2 separate regions of the Homo sapiens genome follow, and region 2 is linked to region 1. Evidence: promoter capture Hi-C in 16 types of primary human blood cells and fetal thymus (Javierre and others, 2016). All regions are on one chromosome and are shown on one strand. Each heading gives the region's core, a stretch centred on a gene start or on the middle of the fragment in contact. The rest is flanking DNA. Distances are from core to core; before and after follow the strand shown.

Evidence for each region. Contacts are between HindIII fragments. The CHiCAGO score rates a contact against its expected background, and 5 or more counts as called.
Region 2: a fragment that was not itself captured here is called in contact with the fragment with the promoter of PPP2R3B in region 1 in 3 of 17 cell types (M0 macrophages, M1 macrophages and erythroblasts); the score reaches 8.8 in M0 macrophages.

What each region holds. Positions count from the first base shown.
Region 1 is chrX:385,477-388,400 of GRCh38, forward strand. It overlaps PPP2R3B (protein phosphatase 2 regulatory subunit B''beta), which reads right to left and starts at 1,431. Exons shown (of 13, transcript NM_013239.5): 1 at 892-1,431. The coding sequence starts at 1,215. The HindIII fragment of the contact is 20,425 bases long and covers 1-2,924 here.
Region 2 is chrX:1,147,071-1,149,994 of GRCh38, forward strand. No RefSeq gene overlaps it. Among named protein-coding and RNA genes, the nearest start is that of CRLF2, 64 kb to the right of the region's middle. The HindIII fragment of the contact is 6,803 bases long and covers 1-2,924 here.

The sequences.
Region 1 (2,924 bases), core at 181-2,680:
CTGCGGTGTATAATCACCTTCTATGAAATAAATGGCGTTTCTTCTAAGAAATACAGTGGGATTTTGGGAGGCCGAAGCGGGAGGATTGCTTGGACCCAGGAATTCCAGAGCACTCTAGGTAACATAGCAAGACCTCGTCTCTGCAAAAATAAATAAATAAATAAATAAACAAAAATTAGCCTGGCGTGATGGTGCACGCCTGTAATCCCAGCTACTGGGGAGGCTGAGGCAGGAAGTCCAACTGTGTTTGCGCCACTGCACTCCAGCCTAGGAGACAGAGCAAGACCCTGTCTCCAAAGAATTGTAAAATAAATAAAAAACGGACCAGGCGCAGTGACTCACGTCTGAAATCCCAGCACTTTGGGAGGCCAAGGCGGGAGGATCACTTGAGGTCAGGAGTTCGAGACCAGCCTGGCCCACATGGGGGAAACCCAGTCTCTACTAAAAATACAACATCAGCCAGGCGTGGTGGCACGTGCCTGTAAGTCCCAGCTCCTCGGGAGCCTGAGGCAGGAGAATCGCTTGAACCTGGGAGGCAGAGGTTGCAGTGAGCCAAGATCGCGCCATCGTACTCCAGCCTGGGCAACAGAGCAAAACTCTGTCTCAAAATTAAAACAAATTAAAATAATAAAATAAAATAAAATAGGAAGCCTTTCTACCTTTATAAATTGTGTGATTTTTAGGTTAACAACTGTCAATGACGGAATGTTCAGTACGTGGGACTTTCTTGTCTGTATGTGTGTGGTGGGGGGGGTCGGGGCGGGGAACAGACTCAATATGAAACCGTTTTGGGGTCTGACGCTCGCCCACCAGCCTCCATCGCGCAGCCACACGCCCACTATGCGACCAGAGCCACCTGCGCAGTTGTTAGCAGAAGGAAGAGTAACTTACTACTCTCGTCCCTGCGGATCTACGGGTGCCTCGAACGTGGGGCGCGTTCCTGGGGCTGGAGGCGGCGCCCAGGGGCAGCGCAGGGCCCGGCCCGGGGGTTCCCGGGGGTTCGAGCCCGCTGGGCCGGGGGGCGGCGAGCGGGGCTGTGGGCCAGGCCCCGGGCTGCTCCCCGTCCCCCGGGGTCGGCTGGTCCCGCCCGGGCGCCTTGATCCGGCGCAGGCAGTCCTGCAGCATCCGCTGCGTGCTGGCCTCGCTGAGCCAGTACAGGAACAGCTCGTCCACCTTCATCTTCAGGACCGGCTGCAGCACTTTGCCGGGCGGCATGGCGGGGGCTGGGCCCGCGGCGCCCCCGGACGCCCGCGCCCCGCCCCGCCCCGGGGGCTTCGGTCCGCCCCGGACCGACCTCGGTGATGCGAGCACGGCCCGCTGAGGGGGCGCGGCGCAGGGAACAGGGCCCGCGCCTCGGGAACTGCGCGGACTCGCGGGGCGCGGGGACCGAGGAGGGGGCGCGGTCCGGCCCGCGCTGCTCAGGGCAGCTTCAAAACGGGCGCGCCGGCCGCGCTCCCAAACAAGGGCGCCCGCGTTCACGTCACTGCGTCGCGTCATCGCGACGATGTCATCACGAGGCGACGCCGCCGCTAGCCACGCGCGCCCCGCGGCCCTCGGAGCTTTTGCAGGAGGCTTTGGTGGGGCCGAGCGGCTGCGGTGAGGACGAGGGAGGGGCTGTGGCGGCCGTACCGCCCGAGCTCTTTCTGCGTTTAGGATTTTTAGAGGCGCGGCCCATGGCGGCGTGGCAGTCCTAGAGCTGCGGAAATGCGAGCATGCGCAATGCGTGCCTGCCAGAGCGAGGAGAGGGTGGAACCTCCGCATGGAGCATGCGCCGTGCATAGCGGTGGAGGAGCGGAGTTCGGGAGGCCGGTCGGGTGAGCGTGCGCAATGGCTGCCCGCGGGGCGCAAGCCAGAGGCTGGGAGGTGTGTGAGCGGGTGGGGCTGGAGGACGGGAGTGCGCCTGCGCAGTGGGAGGCACCGGGAACGAGCGAGCATGCGGGGTGCGCGCCCGCCGAGCTCGGGAGCGAGCGTGCGTCCTACGGGAGCGCGCGAGGAAAAGATCAAACTTTTCAATAACAGCGGGCTACCTGGGACCCAAAGGGCCCCGTTTACTTTAGCTTTGCTTATCAAACAGTAGAGACAGGTTGGAGGAGTTGGACCCCTTTAAACGTTGGTGTTCAGGGATGAGCGTGAAGTGCGTTGAAAATTGCAAAAATCATCCACGTCCAGGGAGGTGACATTAGTTAAATAACTTTACCCAATGGTCGTTTTTGTTTCTGCTTTTAACAGTATCCATAAAAACACTGCATTATCATCTGTCTGGCACACATGCACCTGTTTCCTTTACATCTTGCCCCGCTTTTTATTCATTTTTTATCAAAATAGGGTTTCACCTGGTGTTGCACCCTGTTAGAGAGTAATTTCAAGGTCTTTTATGAGCCAGGTTCTCCTACTTCTGAGCTGCATAAATCGAGCCAGACTCAATAAGTAACCCTTGGCCGGGCGCGGTGGCTCAAGTCTGTAATCCCGGCACTTTGGGAGGCTGAAGCGGGCAGATCACGAAGTCAGGAGTTCGAGACCAGCCTGGCCAGCATAGTGAAACCGCCCCCACCATCTCTACTAAAAATAGAAAAATTAGCCGGGCATAGTAGCGTGTGCCTGTAGTCCCAGCTACTCGGGAGGCTGTGGCGGGAGAATTGCTTGAACCCAGGAGGTGGAGGTTGCAGTGAGCTGAGATCACACCATTGCACTCCAGCCTGGGCGACAGAGCCAGACTTTGTCTCAAAAAAAAAAAAAATAACTCTTTTTTTAGTTTTATTTTTTTTTTGAGTTGGAGTCTCGCTCTGTCGCCCAGGCTGGAGTGCGATGGCAAGATCTCAGCTCACTGTAACCTCCGCCTCCCGGGTTCAAGGGATCCTCCTGCCTCAGCCTCCCGAGTAGCTGGGATTACAGGCGCCCGCCACCACGCCTGGCTAATTTTTGTA
Region 2 (2,924 bases), core at 231-2,730, 760 kb after region 1:
CTTTGGGGCCATTATTCTGTCTCCCACATGGGGATTAGGACGTGGACATCTTTGGGGACATTATTCTGTCTATCACATGGGGATTAGGACGTGGACATCTTTGGGGACATTATTCTGTCTATCACATGGGGATTAGGACGTGGACATCTTTGGGGCCATTATTCTGTCTCCCACATGGGGATTAGGACGTGGACATCTTTGGGGCCATTATTCTGTCTATCACATGGGGATTAGGACGTGGACATCTTTGGGGCCATTATTCTGTCTCCCACATGGGGATCAGGACGTGGACATCTTTGGGGCCATTATTCTGTCTATCACATGGGGATCAGGACGTGGACATCTTTGGGAGTGACATTATTTATCCCTCCACCATTCACTCTGTCCCAGGATCCATTCCATCCTCCCCTGACTTCCCTTTCTTGTGAGCGTGGCTGAGGCAAAATCTGCCCGTCTCCCAAGACTGCAGGCTGCACCTGCCCCGACTCCGCATTTCTCTTCCTCTTACGTACGCCCCTTCAATGCCATTCCTCTGTCTCACTTCACGTCTGTTCAGTGCTTTCAGGAGAGAATTCACCGGGGGGATCACCTCTGAACAACGCCATTCACCAGCTCTCTGGGGCCTGCGAGTCTCTGCCTTCATCCTCACGGTCTACGAGGCAACGTGATCCTGCTTTTTTATTATTCCTGGGTGGACGCTAACCGCCTCCTGGTTTCCTGGGGCCCAGCAACGTCCACACTGGCCCTCCTGGCTTCTTTGTCTAGATTCCCTTCTTGAACTTCAATGTGAAGCGTTTGCGTACCTGCCACCACACTTCCTCCCACGTTCCAAAGCCCGGTCAGCTTTCTCACAGCGGAACTCAAACACCAGGGGCTTATCTTCACCAGTGCTGCAAAAACAGCCTTTCCCAACGGGCCTTCTCTTTCATGTCGAGCCCGTTCCTCCTCTTCCCTCCCTCCTGTGGGCAGCGGCGGCTGCGTTTCTGAGCAACTGGCTTCATGGGGGCGGAAAGACACAGAAGATGCTTCTGCAGGGGGACGGTTTCTGAAGCCCACATGACCAGTGGGGCAGCCGGGGCGGGGCAGAACGTGCTTTTAGTTTATTTTTATTATTTTATTTCATTTATTGTATTTATTTATTTTACACATTTATTTATTTTTCTGAGATGGAGCTTAGCTCTGTTGTCCAGGCTGGAGTGCAGTGGTGCCGGGCAGAATGTGCTTTTAGTTTATTTTTATTATTTTATTGTATTTTATTTATTTATTTAATTAATTTATTTATTTTATATATTTATTTATTTATCTGAGATGGAGTTTCACTCTGTTGTCCAGGCTGGAGTATAGTGGTGTGAAGCAGAACGTGCTTTTATTTTATTTTTATTATTTTATTTTATTTATTTACTTATTTTTTTTTATATATATATATATTTTTTTGAGACGGAGTTTCACTCTGTTGTCCAGGCTGCAGTGCAGTGGTGCCGGGCAGAAAGTGCTTTTAGTTTATTATTTTATTGCAGCTTATTTATTTATTTAATTATTTATTATTTACTTATTTACTGAGACGGAGTTTCACTCCTGTCGCCCAGGCTGGAGTGCAGTGGCGCGATCTCGACTCACTGCAAGCTCCGCCTCCCGGGTTCAAGCGATTCTCCTGCCTCAGCCTCCCGAGTAGCTGCGATTACAGGCACCTGCCACCACCATGCCCGGCTAATTTTTGTATTTTTAGTAGAGACGGGGTTTTGCCATGTTGGCCAGGCTGGTCTTGAACTCCTGACCTCAGGTGATCCGCCCGCCTCGGCCTCCCAAAGTGCTGGGATTATGGGTGTGAGCCACTGCGCACGGCCATATTTTATCTATTTATTTACTTGCTCACTTATTTTGATATGTAGTCTCACTCTGTCCCGCAGGCTGGAGTGCAGTGGCGCAATCTTGACTCTCTGCAATCTCCACCTCCCGGGTTCAAGTGATTGTTCTGCCTCAGCCTCCTGAGTAGCTGGGGTCACAGGCACCTGCCACCATGACCAGCTAATTTTTGTATTTTTAGTAGAGACAAGGTTTTGCCATGTTGGCCAGGCTGGTCTTGAACTCCCGACCTCAAGTGATCCACCCACCTTGGCCTCCCAATGTGCTGGGATGACAGCTGTGAGCCACCATGCCCAGCCCAGAACATTCTTTTAAATGACAGTGGTGAAGAGCCAAAAAATAATAATAATAATTCTTTTTGTAGTAGTAGATTCAGTTCTAAAGCAAACTTCTTTAAAGACTGGGTGCAAAGCTACCTTTACACACAGAGAGAAACTTCACCCGGAGACAGGATTGCTAGTTGCTGAGATGTACTCAGATCAAACTAAGCTGGAGAGGGGCTCTTGGCCTCAGCACTGCTGACATTTGCGGCTGGAAGATTCTTTGCTGTGGGGCCATCCTGGGCACTGGAGGGTGTTGAGCAGTGTCCCTGGGCTGCACCCACCAGGTTCCAAAACCACCCACTCCCCAGTGAGGGCAACAAAAAATGAAAAATGACCGTAAATACTGCCCGATGGCACCTTAGAGCAGAATTATCTGCAGTTGGGAGTCAGTATCAATATAGATAGAGAGATAGTAGATAACAAACAGATAGATAAATAGATACATAGAAAAATGGATGCATAGGCCGGGCACGGTGGCTCACGCCTGTCATCCCAGCACTTTGGGAGGCCGAGGCGGGCGGATCACCTGAGGTCAGGAGTTCGATACCAGCCTGACCAACATGGTGAAACCCCATCTCTACTAAAAATACAAAAATTAGCTGGGTGTGGTGGCGGGTTCCTGTAGTCCCAGCTACTTGGGATGCTGAGGCAGGAAAATCACTTGAACTCAGGAAGCAGAGGTTTTAGTGAGCCAAGATCATGCCACTGCACTCCAGCCTGGGTGGCAGGAGCAAGACT